Regions from separate parts of the Homo sapiens genome. Here region 2 is linked to region 1. The links are contacts of gene promoters, found by promoter capture Hi-C in blood cells and fetal thymus (Javierre and others, 2016). All regions are on one chromosome and are shown on one strand. The core of a region is centred on a gene start or on the middle of the fragment in contact, and the rest is flanking DNA. Distances in the headings are between cores, read along the strand shown. Region 1 holds the start of TMPO (thymopoietin). Region 2 holds the start of SUDS3 (SIN3A corepressor complex component SDS3).

Region 1 (6,353 bases), core at 2,821-5,320:
CACGCCAGGCTAATTTTGTATTTTTAGTAGAGACGGGGTTTCTCCACATGGTCTCAAATTCCCGACCTCAGGTGATCTGCCTGCCTCAGCCTCCCAAAGTGCTGGGATTACAGGCGTGAGCCACCGGGCCCACCTCCAGATGATTTTTTTTTAAGTTATGGGAAAGTTTTCTGATTTAAAAAAAAAAAAAATTGCATCAGGCCAGACGCAGTGGCTCATGCCTGTAATCCCAGCAATTTGGGAGGCTGAGGCGGGTGGATTGCCTGAGGTCAGGAGTTTGAGACCAGCCTGGTCAACATGGTGAAACTCTTGTCTCTACTATATTACAAAAAAATTAGCTGGGCGTGGCAGCAGGCGCCTGTAATCCCAGCTACTTGGGAGGCTGAGGCAGAAGAATTGCTTGAACCTGGGAGGCAGAGGTTACAGTGGGCTGAGATTGTGCTACTGCACTCCAGGCTCGGCAACAGAGGGAGACTCCATTTCCAAAAAAAAAAAAAAAAAAATTTGCATCCACCAGGCACAGTGGCTCATGCCTGTAATCCCAGAACTTTGGGAGGCTGAGGCGGGTGGATCACCTGAGGTCAGGAGTTCAAGACCAGCCTGGTCAACATGGTGAAACCCAGTCTCTACTAAAATACAAACAAATTAGATGAGTGTATTAGCAGGCGCCTGTAGTCCCAGCTACTCTGGAGGCTGGGGCAAGGAGAATTGCTTGAACCTGGGAGGCGGAGGTTGCAGTGAGCCGAGACTACGTCACTGCACTCCAGCCTAGTCTCTGTTGGACATTCTGACCACAGTCAGAATATTAAGACTTCTAAAAACTCTCATTTCCCTGTGAAATTTTCTGAATTAAAATTACTTTTATCTACCAATGACCTGGAACACCCCGAGCCCCCCAACCCCCACTTTTATTAATAGTTGTCCCGCCTTTCTGGAAGGGACCAATCTACATCTTACACATATTGATTTTAGAGACAGGGTCTCACTCTGTCACCCAGGCTGGAATGCAGTGACAGGATTATGGCTCACTGCAGCCTCAACCTCCCAGGCTCAAGTGATCCTCCCACCTCAGTCTCCCTAGTAGCTAGAACTACAGGTGGGCACCATGGCTAAATTTTGTATTTTTTTGTAGAGAGGGGGTTTTACTGTTTTGCCCAGGCTAGTCTTGAACTCCTAAGCTCAAGGGATCCGCCTGTCTCAGCCTCCCAAAGTGTTGGGATTACAGGCGTGAGCCACAGTGCTCAGCCTTTGTGTTTTTTGTGTCACATTGATCAAATATTTTAAAAATTATCTTTTATGTTGAAACAAGTATTAAGGAGATGATGGAAAGAGTCAATTCCTTGAGAAGGGTGAGAGCCAGAGTACAAGTGGTGGAATTTCCTTCTGACAGGACACATCTTTCACTGAAAAGAAAAATGCAAGAGAAAATGAATGCAAATTGGAAAGTCTGACGTTGAAGCATTCCTCATAGGTGGTTTTTATTTTTTGAAGTTGAGGCAAGGTCACCAGCTAAAAATGAGAGGTAGGGAAAAAGGATGTGAAATTTGAGGAGATGTGAACGTATGAATGGTTAACCCAGAGACTGGAATAGCATTGCCAGCCAGTGTTGAGTGCTCCTGAGAGGACTGAGGTCATGAATTAAAACCAGTTAGCTTGTTATATGACTGACTTTTCTCCAGCAGCTTTTGCTGTTTGGATGTAAGCAATGAGAAAGTTCAGCTGGAGCATGGTTTAGTCCAAGCAAGGCTGAGATTCTTTCAAGCAAAAAAGGAGACATTGAGATCAGAGAGTTGAAAATGTTTGTAAAAGAGTGATGAAAAGGACTGATCAGGGAATTTAAGTCAGGTGAGTTGCAAAATTATTACATGATGGCAGAAGCAGAAGAGTTGAGTTTTTTTAAGTGTTGGGGTTAATAGCGTGGAGGTCTTAATTAGGTAAGTGAGAGTACCATAAATTAGCTGGGAAAAAAAGGCTAGTGATTGACAATTGGGAAGCTTGAAACTGAGATTTCAACTGATGACAAGGTTCAGAATCTGACTGATACCGAAGTGGTTAAGACGCAAGAGAGGAACAAATTGTTGGAGATGAAGAGGTCAGAGGTCTAAGAGGCCAAGTGTTGGTGTTGCATGGGTCACCTACAAGCATGCTGAATTCAGATAGAATGTAGACAAGAGGGATGGTGAGGAAAACCTACGGCAAGCAGCTCTATAATTTCTGGAAAGTGACCAGGAGGCTCGTGGATGATGGCAGGAAGGAGAGTAGAAAGTGATTTAGCCAGAAGATATGAACTTCAAATATTTTTGAAGCAGAAAAGAGCAGAAATGGTTTGGAAGTAGCAATCAGGACCAAAGAGACCACCCAAACTCAATAGCCCAACCTCTTAGCCTTAGGGTACGCAGAATCTGAAAAGTGTAATCTCAATTTTGGAGCTCTACAGCAGTAAATCTGCAAGTAACCACCTGTAGCTAATGTCCAGGGATTAAAAAAAAGATAATGAAAATGTTTTTGCCCAGGAAACATTAATTTCAGGCGTATCTAGAATGCAGTTCTTGCATTATACGTACTGGGTTACCAGTCATTGCAAAGTCATGGTCCTTTGCCTCTCAGCTCAGTTCCCCTTCTGAAGATAAAAACATTTGCCTATGTGTCCAGGGAAGCTGTGAGGACAAAAAACCAAGCAACTTTTACAAGGGATCATAAAAACCTACCTAACAACTTGCTAATTAAAACCTGATTTTTAATTTGCATTATTGAGCTTAATACCATTGCTTAAATGTATGTGAATACTGAGATTTTTATAAAGGAATTAGTTACCTCTAGGAAAATAATTATCACTAAAAGAAATAATATCGCAATTTGAATAAAAGTAAGTCGCTTAAATCATAGGAAACATTTTTAGTGAAGGCGTTTGTTTTAAATGTATTCTAACCTAGCAATGTAGAAAGCAGGCAAACATTTAAAAAAAATTTAACCAGTTTCTAAAACATAGTTTGGAGCTCAGATTCTGGGGAAATGATTAACACACCCTACATCCAAGGTCTCCTTTCCTTTCTAGAAAGAAAGCATCTTTAAACATACATATTCATCAGAAATACAAATATTTGTCATCAGTGATACTAATTTCCAGGCAAACATTTTAATTGCAGTCAATGTATTAGATTCTACCAGGTTTTAATTTGGATCGGTAATACGGGTTTGATTAGGGTTCTAGGCCTAATTATAGGTCACTAGTCTTCCTTTAGGATTATGCACCATCTGTTATTTTAAATTGACCATTGAGGGGGTTCCCAAGGGTTCTCCTTCGTTTTGTTATCAAACGTTAGGTTTAGGATTCTTGCGGGTGGTGGGATCCAAAGCCAGAGACGGTTTCAACAAAAATGCAAGCGCGAATTTGTCTTGCGTCTGAACGCACTGTTCAAATTAAACAATTTAGACATGCCCCAACTATGACACTAAGAAGTGAATGGTATAGTACACTTTTGTCACAAATTCAAGGGTAATTTAAGTGCCCGATTGTAGAGGTCTGGCTTCCCCTGGGTTTCTGGAACAAAAGAAGCGTTCGCGAGGAGAGGGGTAACTCCCCGCCCTCCCCCTCCCAAAGTAAATCAAATCAAGGAATATGAGTGCCTGCAGACAAGCCTCGCTTCTTTTCTTCCCCTTCAGGGCTAGCGTTTGGGGAAGGCAAGGCTGCGGCTACTCTTGGAGCTTCAGTGTCCCGGGAGGAAGAAAGGCCCAGCCAAGGGTCCTCACACTGGCGTGGAATTCGGCGCGTTCGTAGGCGATCGACCCCAGAGACGAAAGCTGCTTCTCAAGCTGGGGGAGGGAGAGGAAACGGCGCACAAAAGCAGTACGACCTGTCCCTTATCGGCGTCTAAGGGGAAGGGTGGAGAAAACGAAAACAGAAGCGGGCCGGGAGCCTCGGCTCCCGCCCCAGCGCCTTTTAAACTGCGTTTCTACCTCCTCTCGCTCAGCGCGGCGGCTAATGGAACCCGCGCGAGCCGTCTCGCCAATCACCGCCGCGCTTCCTCCCGTCGCCCGCCAATGGCGGCGCGCGTTCTTGGGGCGTGGGCGAAGCAGGCTGCTCGCCTCCTGCCTGTAGTGTGTGGGCTGGGGTTGGTGCGAGCTTCCAGCTTGGCCGCAGTTGGTTCGTAGTTCGGCTCTGGGGTCTTTTGTGTCCGGGTCTGGCTTGGCTTTGTGTCCGCGAGTTTTTGTTCCGCTCCGCAGCGCTCTTCCCGGGCAGGAGCCGTGAGGCTCGGAGGCGGCAGCGCGGTCCCCGGCCAGGAGCAAGCGCGCCGGCGTGAGCGGCGGCGGCAAAGGCTGTGGGGAGGGGGCTTCGCAGATCCCCGAGATGCCGGAGTTCCTGGAAGACCCCTCGGTCCTGACAAAAGACAAGTTGAAGAGTGAGTTGGTCGCCAACAATGTGACGCTGCCGGCCGGGGAGCAGCGCAAAGACGTGTACGTCCAGCTCTACCTGCAGCACCTCACGGCTCGCAACCGGCCGCCGCTCCCCGCCGGCACCAACAGCAAGGGGCCCCCGGACTTCTCCAGTGACGAAGAGCGCGAGCCCACCCCGGTCCTCGGCTCTGGGGCCGCCGCCGCGGGCCGGAGCCGAGCAGCCGTCGGCAGGGTAAGGACGCGGGGCCGGGGCTACAAAGGCGGGCGTTTGGCGGTTGCCGCGCGCGCTCGCCGCCGTTTGCAGCCCCTCCCTCCCGGGCGCCCCCTCGGGCCTCCCAGGTGCGGGGCTGTCCCTGCGCCCCCTCGCGTCGCCCCTTCCCCGCGGGGCTGCAGGCGCCGGAGCGGAGAGGCCAGAAGTTGGGGCCGCGGGGTTCGCGTTCTTTGACGTGTGGGTCTGGGAGGTGTGGAGTTGCGTTGGCGGCGGTTGTTTTGCACGCAGTCGACGCCGCTTCCCTGGACCACCAGCCGCCTGCAGCGGGCGTTTAGACGGGGACTTCCGTGCCCTTTCGAAAGCTCTGGAGGGGTGGCCCCAAAATGCTATAGGTTAAGTTCGAGCGTTTTCCCGCTTTATTAACTGAAATGACTCGCAGCAGAGTCTCAGAGCGCTCCCTGGAGGGCAACTGATGACACTCTAATTTCTAACCAAAATTTGAAATGAGGAAATTCCCGCCTTTTTATACTTTTGCGTGTGGAGGGCTTTTTGAACCGTTTATGTTTTCTAGTTTGTTTTAATTTTTCCCAGCAACAGGCCATCTTTTGGCGGAACAGGTTCATGCCGAATTAAAAGGAGCATTTTAAACTATATTTTTAGGCGCCTATTATAATTTTTTAGTTTTTATTTATTTATTTTTTTAGATGGAGTGTCGCACTTGTTGCCCAGGCTGGAGTGCAATGGCGAGATCTCGGCTCACCGCAACCTCCACCTCCCGGGTTCAAGCGATTCTCCTGCCTCAGCCTCCCGAGTAGCTGGGATTACAGGCATGCGCCGCCACGCCCGGCTGATTTGTGTATTTTTTAGTAGAGACGGGGTTTCTCCAAGTTGGTCAGGCTGGTCTCGAACTCCTGACCTCAGGTGGTCCTCCCGCCTCGGCCTCACAAAGTGCTGGGATAACAGGCGTGAGCCACCGGGCCCGGCCCTGCAAACAAATATTTGAAAATTGCAGTTTGGATTGCGTTTTCCCCACATATTGGTAAATTTTGCTTGAGGAAACGAAAGACTTAGGATTCAGGAAAAATTTATTTCATGACATTCTGGTGCATCAGTATTGCAATTTGGAATGTCTGATCCTGGTTAAATCTCAAATCGGCTCCAGCAAAGCATGTTTTGTTTCAGAATAGTTTGCTTTTTTACCTGTGGATTTTAATATGCTTTTTGTGGGTTTGCTTATGCCTGCCGAGTTACCAGGCTTCAAATCGTAATAGGATGAAGCTAAAACTAGTAATTGGTGTAACATAAAATGCCTTGTAAGAGACAGTGAATGTGGTGTTTGGAGTTGTTGGGAATGATCACTAGTTTAAACCGAAATTATTCCTTCCTTCAAATTTTACTTTAGTTTTTAAGGAACCTGTCTAATGTGTTTTCCCGGCTACTCAGGCAGAAATGAAAGACAAATGTAATAGACACATGTAAATTTAATTGAAAATCTTATTCTCGGCTTCAGAGAAGTTGAAAGTTTTACCAAACGTCTTCAGTCCGGTGTCTGGCACATAGTAGTGCCAAATATTTGTACAATAAATAAAAGACCAATCACACCTTATTGTTTAAACATCTTGTTTTGCGGAAAGCTTCTTTAATTTCTTAATAAACAAATTTACTTTTGAAATAAAAGCGTACCCGCTTACCCGTTATGTTTCCCTGCTCTGAAAAAGAAGGTAGTATTTAAACTCTTTAAGTAGAG
Region 2 (6,353 bases), core at 1,801-4,300, about 20 Mb after region 1:
CGTTGGGGGAAAAAAAATCTATATACAGTACTAGGTGCATACTTTGCCCAACTAAGCGTTCAATGCGGGGCACATTTTGATAGGTGCAAGGACAAAGCTTTAGAAATTTTCAGTTTGTAGGTTTTTATGACAGTAGGAAGACTGTGGTAGGGGAACCCTATTATTAGCTTAACAAGGTTTCAGCAAAGCTATTCAATATAACCTTTTTCCAGGGCCACAGGTTTTAATGATTCTATGTGAACGTGTGGCCAAAGGATAACGAGCTTTGACCCAGGTTTAACATGTGATAATCAGAGACTCCTCTTGATCCACGCTAAAGGATAGTGCCTGCCAGGGGTGAAAGTGCATCATGCTACTAAGACCCATTTGTGTTATTTTTGTGAAACTGGATATGCTGATCAAATCAACACCGGAAACAGAAAACTGCTTTCCTTACTCTTAACGCCAAAAGTAAGTTTATGGACTTTAGAATTTAGCATTTTATGAAGAAATTGTCTCAGGAACACATTTTGATCCTAAGTTTTGTCAGATGTATACAGGCCTTAGTTCTCAGAGAACCCTCGATTGTTAACTTTTTAACTCCAGCTGACAAAATGTGTTTGTGTTCTAAACAGTATACATGTTTCTTCTAGTGTTTTAAGAATCATACGCCATTCATCACCTGAGGTCAAGGGTTCCAGACCTGCCTGGCCAACATGGTGAAATCCCGTCTGTACGAAAAATACAAAAATTAGCCGGGCATGGTGGCACCCACCTGTAATCCCAGCTACTAGAAAGGCTGAGGCAGGAGAATCACTTGAACCCGGAGGCGGAGGTTGCAGTGAGTCGAGATCGCATCACTTCACTCCAGCCTGGGTGAAAGAGCAAAACTCCGTCTCAAAAAAAGAAAAAAAGAAAAAGAAAAAAAAGAATCATACTCCATTCCAATTGTGATGTCCCCCTTTAAAGTTTCAGTTTGGGTGTTAGGGTAGGCAGAGAAGGCCTGGAAGCAAAGAAGTTGTGGAAATGGGGCTGGCAGGGCTTCGTTTCAAGTCAAGTCGAGTTCCTGAGCGGTGTGGCTGAGTACCGTTTTGAGAAGGGATATATAAAAAGATTTCAAGGTGGTAAAACTTGGTTTTGAGGGAACTTGATTTTTACAGGAGTATAGCGACTGTCCAAAATCATATTAAATAAATCTAAAGGTTAGGTAAGACTAAAGCCATAAGAGAATTTTTTTGAGTAGGTCCACCTTCACTAAAGAGCATTTTTTAGTTCTGCAGCTGGCAATCTGGACAGAAAAAAATGGGGTAAGTTTTCATAACCCAAGTGCTCAGTTGTGTCTATTCATTACATATAAAAAAGAAATGCATGACCATTAACAGATGCTGTTTGCAGTCAAGAAGACAGCAGTAAAACATAAGCAGGATAAAAATCTCAGCGTCTTGAAAGGAAACCATTTAGCAACGAAATAAACTTAAAAATTAATTGTATCAATGAACTCTTGATTTCTAAAATCTTTGCTTTTTCTGCACTATGATTACTGCTACTGACAGGAACGCAAGTTACTCAATATAGTTGATTGCAAGTAATTTAGATGTTCTCCAACAGCACAAAGAAAGAAAATGACTTCATCTTTTGGACAAGAGACAGTTCTGGAATCCTAGTTTAAATATAGATGGCAGACCTACGGTGCGATCTGAGAATGATTCTTATTTAGAAGGGGCTTCAGAAGATCTCAGAACTCCTGGAAAGACATCTTAGCATTCCATTCTGGAAATTCTTTAGTTTTGTTGGGAGAAAAAATCACTTACAAATAGAGCCAAGATTTTAATTAAAACAAGGTAGTAAATAAATGTCAAAATAAGTGGGATGAGAATAACGTTTCATTTTCAGAAGAGTCCATAGGGAACAATTCAGAGATAAATTTAATCACAAAAGGTCTGAGAATGGGAATATTCGGTTCCACCCTGGTTTTCACATCTGTTCATTTTCACTACTGGTTGCGTTTCCTACGGAGACTCGGGTGGAACATAAAAGTGGGGCTACTTTGGACAAACCATTAAAAACCTTACCCTTTTTTCTCGCTACACACAACTAGACCACATTGCTCTTAGCTAAAGGGACACCTTAAATCTATTCGTTCAGCAAAACTTATAACACCGTGTTCCTTTTCTACTCAGAGGGAATCGCACAAATTAATTCTTGCAGATACTCAGCTCTCCTGTTTTTTAAGCTTCCACGTGGGCCTTAGCCAAATAACTTCTGGTAGGCAAATTCTCCCCTTCTTCAGTTGAGAGCTCAGAGCAAGCTGTTGGATTAAGCAAAAGCACCTTTTAAAAAATTAATATTCAAGGCAGCTGTACCGCGGAGGGCCTGGGTCTCGGAGTCTAAAAAATCAGACTGGACGTTACTATTTTTTTTTAGGCAAACGACAGCTCGTTTCTCATTTGTAAAACCGGGGGAACATCTTACCGAATAAACCTTACACAAACAGAAAGGATTCCTAAGGGCTGGGAAAATACTATTTTGCTGTCCCCAGGATGGAATATCAGCATCCTTGTCTTTTAGCTCTTAATAAAGCTCTAACTAGTCACAGGAGGAGCCAGGCTGCATGATCACGCACACTCTGGACGTCTAGGTTTTCCGACCTAATAAGGGGGCAGGTCGCGTCGTTCCCTGCTTAAATTAGAGACCACCTCCACCTGCCAAGGGCCCTTCAAACCCTCCGCCCCTAGGTCGCTAACGATCACCGCTTTAGTTCTAGCTCCAGGCGCCGCCTGGCGGCTGTCTCCGGAAGTCGCCTGCGAGCCTCGGGGTCCTGACCGCTGCTGGGCCTGCCCGTAGATTTGCCTGACTCTAGCGAACCTGGCTCCGCCCCTCCCCCACTATACGTTGAGGATTTTAAGACGGCGATGAAAGGGCTGAGGTTGTGGCGACGGGGGCGTCCAGCGGCATCTCCACTCCCCCAAGGATGGCGGAATCAGGCCGTTGTCGGGCAGCTCTCGACCCGGAAGTCGCTCGCGGCGCGAGGCCCCCGTTGCCGAGCGCGGGCGCGGGGGGCGGAGCTCGGCGGAGACGGGGAAGGGGTCGCCGTGGCTGCCGGTCCTCGAGTTGGGGGCTGCCGCGGACACTGCTAGGCAGACGGCGAGTACCGAGCGCGGGTGGCCGCGGTGTCCGTGGGCCACGCTCAGCTGCGGTCAGAGGCGACATGAGTGCCGCGGGGCTGCTGGCCCCGGCCCCGGCCCAGGCTGGAGCGCCGCCGGCCCCCGAGTACTACCCCGAGGAGGATGAAGAGCTGGAGAGCGCCGAGGACGACGAGCGCAGCTGTCGGGGCCGCGAGTCGGACGAAGGTGAGTCCTGCCGCTCGCCCGGCCGCCCGGAGCGGAGGTGGGACCGCTGGGGGAGGGGGTGGGGCTGTTCGGGAGAGGGGCGGGGCGGCCTCCGGGGCCTGGGGCTGCGTGGAGGGGCCGCCGGGAGTTGCGGGGCTCGGGGAAGTTACCCCCATCCGTGCTGGAGTAGCGGGGAAGCCCTGGGTGCGTTACACTCGACCGTGATGGGGAGAGGGGACTTAGATGTTGTCACGCTGGGGGTCCCTTTAAGACCCCGTCCTCCCTCCCAGCCGTTTCTGATTGAACCTCACTCACTAGTAGGAATTAGAAACTCATTTACTGAATACATCGAGTGTAGTTCGCCCCTTTTTTGTGTGTGAGAGCATCAGAGTCCAAAGTTGCCCCTCCCCACCCCCGAAATGCATAAGTCATCTATACTTTAGGTAGTACACTATTGAGAACTCAGGTTGGTTAAAGGAAAGGGACCTAGAACCAGCCAGATACAGGTTTAAATTTGGCTTTGTCACTTAACTCAGCTTTGTAAACTTAAGTTTTCCAGCCTCGATTTACCCAACTGTAATGGAGCTGTTTAATTCCCACACCTGCCCTAGAAGGCACTTCCTAGGGTCGGTATAGGGATTAAATGACATGCGCATAAAGTACTTGGCCTGGTACTGTAAATACTCCGTAAATGTTCTCCCCACCCGCCCCCCTCCCGGAAACAGGTAAGAGAGGGAGAGATTTGCTTAATGGTCCCCAGGTGTTGTGTTTTCAGTCCCACGCTCTTTGCACTGTCATCACAGAGTCTCAGAGCCTTGCTTTTCAAACTGGGCTTTATAATTTGGCAAGTGTGAGGAACGCTATTTTGGAGGGATGGAGGAGGAGGAAGGTGATGAAATGTGAGAGATCAAGGGAGGAGAAATAGGAAACAAAGAGAGACCGATATATGAGCGGAATATTCTGGGACAAAATCGGGCCGTGGAGCAAAAGCTAGACCAGCTGTTTGGAATGGGGCCTACGTTTTATTCATCTGAGTTTCCCGAGTGCCAAGTAATGTGGCTGACCATGACAGGAACTCAGGGAAGGCCTCTTGACTGAAGGAGGGGAGAAGGGTTTGTGGGGAATTGGATCTGCAACAGCCTTACAAAAGACAGCTGCATATGCATGACATACAAAGTTGAGGGACTGCATTCGATTTAATTCCATCAGAAGACACGGCTTAACCAGAGATTTTGAATGTGAAGCACTTGCACTTCATCTCATACCCACGAGGGGGCGCTGTGGAGCCAAAATTGAGTTTTTTTTTCCTTCCAGTATAGGGGCTATTAAAATTTTGTACACACCCCAGCCATTAGCTTGTTCTAAGAACAATGTTTAAGATGTTCTGAAACAGTTTTCGTTTGATCATCTGGCCTCCTCCTTGTTCCCTTTAGTTGTAACTTGGAAAATATTTATTTGTGTCAGATTCCCCTTTTTTATTGTATACAGTTGGCTCTGCGTATCTGTGGGTTCTGCATCTGTGAATTCAACCAAGCGCAGCTCAAAAATATTCAGGAAAAAAATTGGATCTGTACTGAACATGTGCAGACTTTTTTTTTGTTATTCCTAAACAGTGTAGCGTAACAACTACTTACATAGTATTTACATTTTATTGGATATTGTAAGTAATCTTTTTTTTTTTTTTTTTAAGATGGGGTCTCACTCACTCACCCAGGCTGGTGTGCAGTGTCACGATCTCAGCTCACTGCAACTTCCATCTCCTGGGTTCAAGCAGTTCTCCTGCCTCAGTCTCCGGAGTAGTTGGGATTACTGGCACCTGCCACCATGCCTGGCTAATTTTTGTGGTTTTATTTGTTGTTTTGTTTATTTTATTTTTTTTTGAGATGGAGTTTCACTCTTGTTGCCCAGGGTGGAGTGCAATGGCGCGATCTCGGCTCACCACAACCTCTGCCTCCCGAGTTCAAGCAATTCTCCTGCCTCAGCCTCCTGAGTAGCTGGGATTACAGGCATGTGCCGCCACCCCCAGCTAATTTTGTATTTTTAGTAGAGACGTGGTTTCTCCATGCTGGTCAGGCTGGTCTCGAACTCCCGACCTCAGGTGATCCACCTGCCTTTGCCTCCCAAAGTGCTGGGATTACAGGCGTGAGCCACTGCACCTGGCCCTAATTTTTGTGTTTTTAGTAGAGATGGGGTTTCACCACGTTGGCCAGGCTGGTCTGGAACTCCTGTCCTCAGGTGATTCTCCTGCTTTGGCCTTCCAAAGTGCTGGGATTACAGACATGAGCTGCCATGCCTGGCCTGGATATTCTAAGTAATCTAGAGATGATTTAAAGTGTACTGTTGGCCTGGTGCAGTGGCTCATGCCTGTAATCCCAGCACTTTGGAATGCGAAAGCAGGTGGTTCACTTGAGGCCAGGAGTTCGAGACCAGCCTGGCCAACGTGGCGAAACCTCATCTCTACTAAAAATACAAAAAGTAGCCGGGTGTGGTGGTGCACCCCTGTAATCCCAGCTATTTGGGAAGCTGAGGCAGGAGAATCGCTTGAACCCAGGAGGTGGAGGTTGCAGTGAGCCGAGATTGTGCCACTGCACTCCAGCCTGGGCGACAGAGTGAGACTGTGTCTCATTAAAAAGAAAAGTATACTGGAAGATGTGCGTAGGTTATATGCAAATACTATGCCATTTTGTCAGAGACTTGAGCAGCTGAGGATTTTGGTATCCACGGGAGGTGCAGTAACCACTCCCCCACGGATACTGAGGGACAACCGTGTATCCTGATGTAAAATGTGCGAAGGGTTCCAACTGGGTATGTATCAGAAGAGAATGTACATACTAGTTTTTTTCTGGAGCAGCGAGTAAGGCTTGACTGCCTGCAGTGTCCAGTCTTACGCCTGCATCTCCTTTCTTGAGTTGCCAGCATTGTTGTTTCTGCAGAAGTAGCAGCCTTCACCATAACTGCCTGTGCCTGAGACACCCTATTCTGTGGCTGCATTTCAGGTAAAGGCAAGCTTTTTGCATAAATCTGACTGTAAGTTGGAAATGGCCT

Evidence for each region. The method cuts DNA at HindIII sites, captures the fragments that hold promoters and counts their contacts. A CHiCAGO score of 5 or more calls a contact.
Region 2: the fragment with the promoter of SUDS3 here is called in contact with the fragment with the promoter of TMPO in region 1 in 1 of 17 cell types (naive CD8 T cells); the score reaches 7.0 in naive CD8 T cells.

The regions. Positions count from the first base shown.
Region 1 is chr12:98,511,520-98,517,872 of GRCh38, forward strand. TMPO (thymopoietin) reads left to right here and starts at 4,071. Exons shown (of 9, transcript NM_001032283.3): 1 at 4,071-4,627. The coding sequence starts at 4,349. TMPO-AS1 (TMPO antisense RNA 1) reads right to left here and starts at 4,707. Exons shown (of 2, transcript NR_027157.1): 1 at 4,472-4,707; 2 at 1,454-4,378. RefSeq lists enhancers at 39-539, 3,691-3,770, 4,031-4,220 and a silencer at 4,561-4,830. The HindIII fragment of the contact is 4,246 bases long and covers 1,993-6,238 here.
Region 2 is chr12:118,373,505-118,379,857 of GRCh38, forward strand. SUDS3 (SIN3A corepressor complex component SDS3) reads left to right here and starts at 3,051. Exons shown (of 12, transcript NM_022491.3): 1 at 3,051-3,329. The coding sequence starts at 3,188. It overlaps LOC124903031 (a long non-coding RNA gene), which reads right to left and starts at 2,623. Exons shown (of 2, transcript XR_007063480.1): 1 at 2,452-2,623; 2 at 1,794-2,287. RefSeq lists silencers at 3,048-3,267, 3,298-3,447 and an enhancer at 3,106-3,606. The HindIII fragment of the contact is 4,103 bases long and covers 2,211-6,313 here.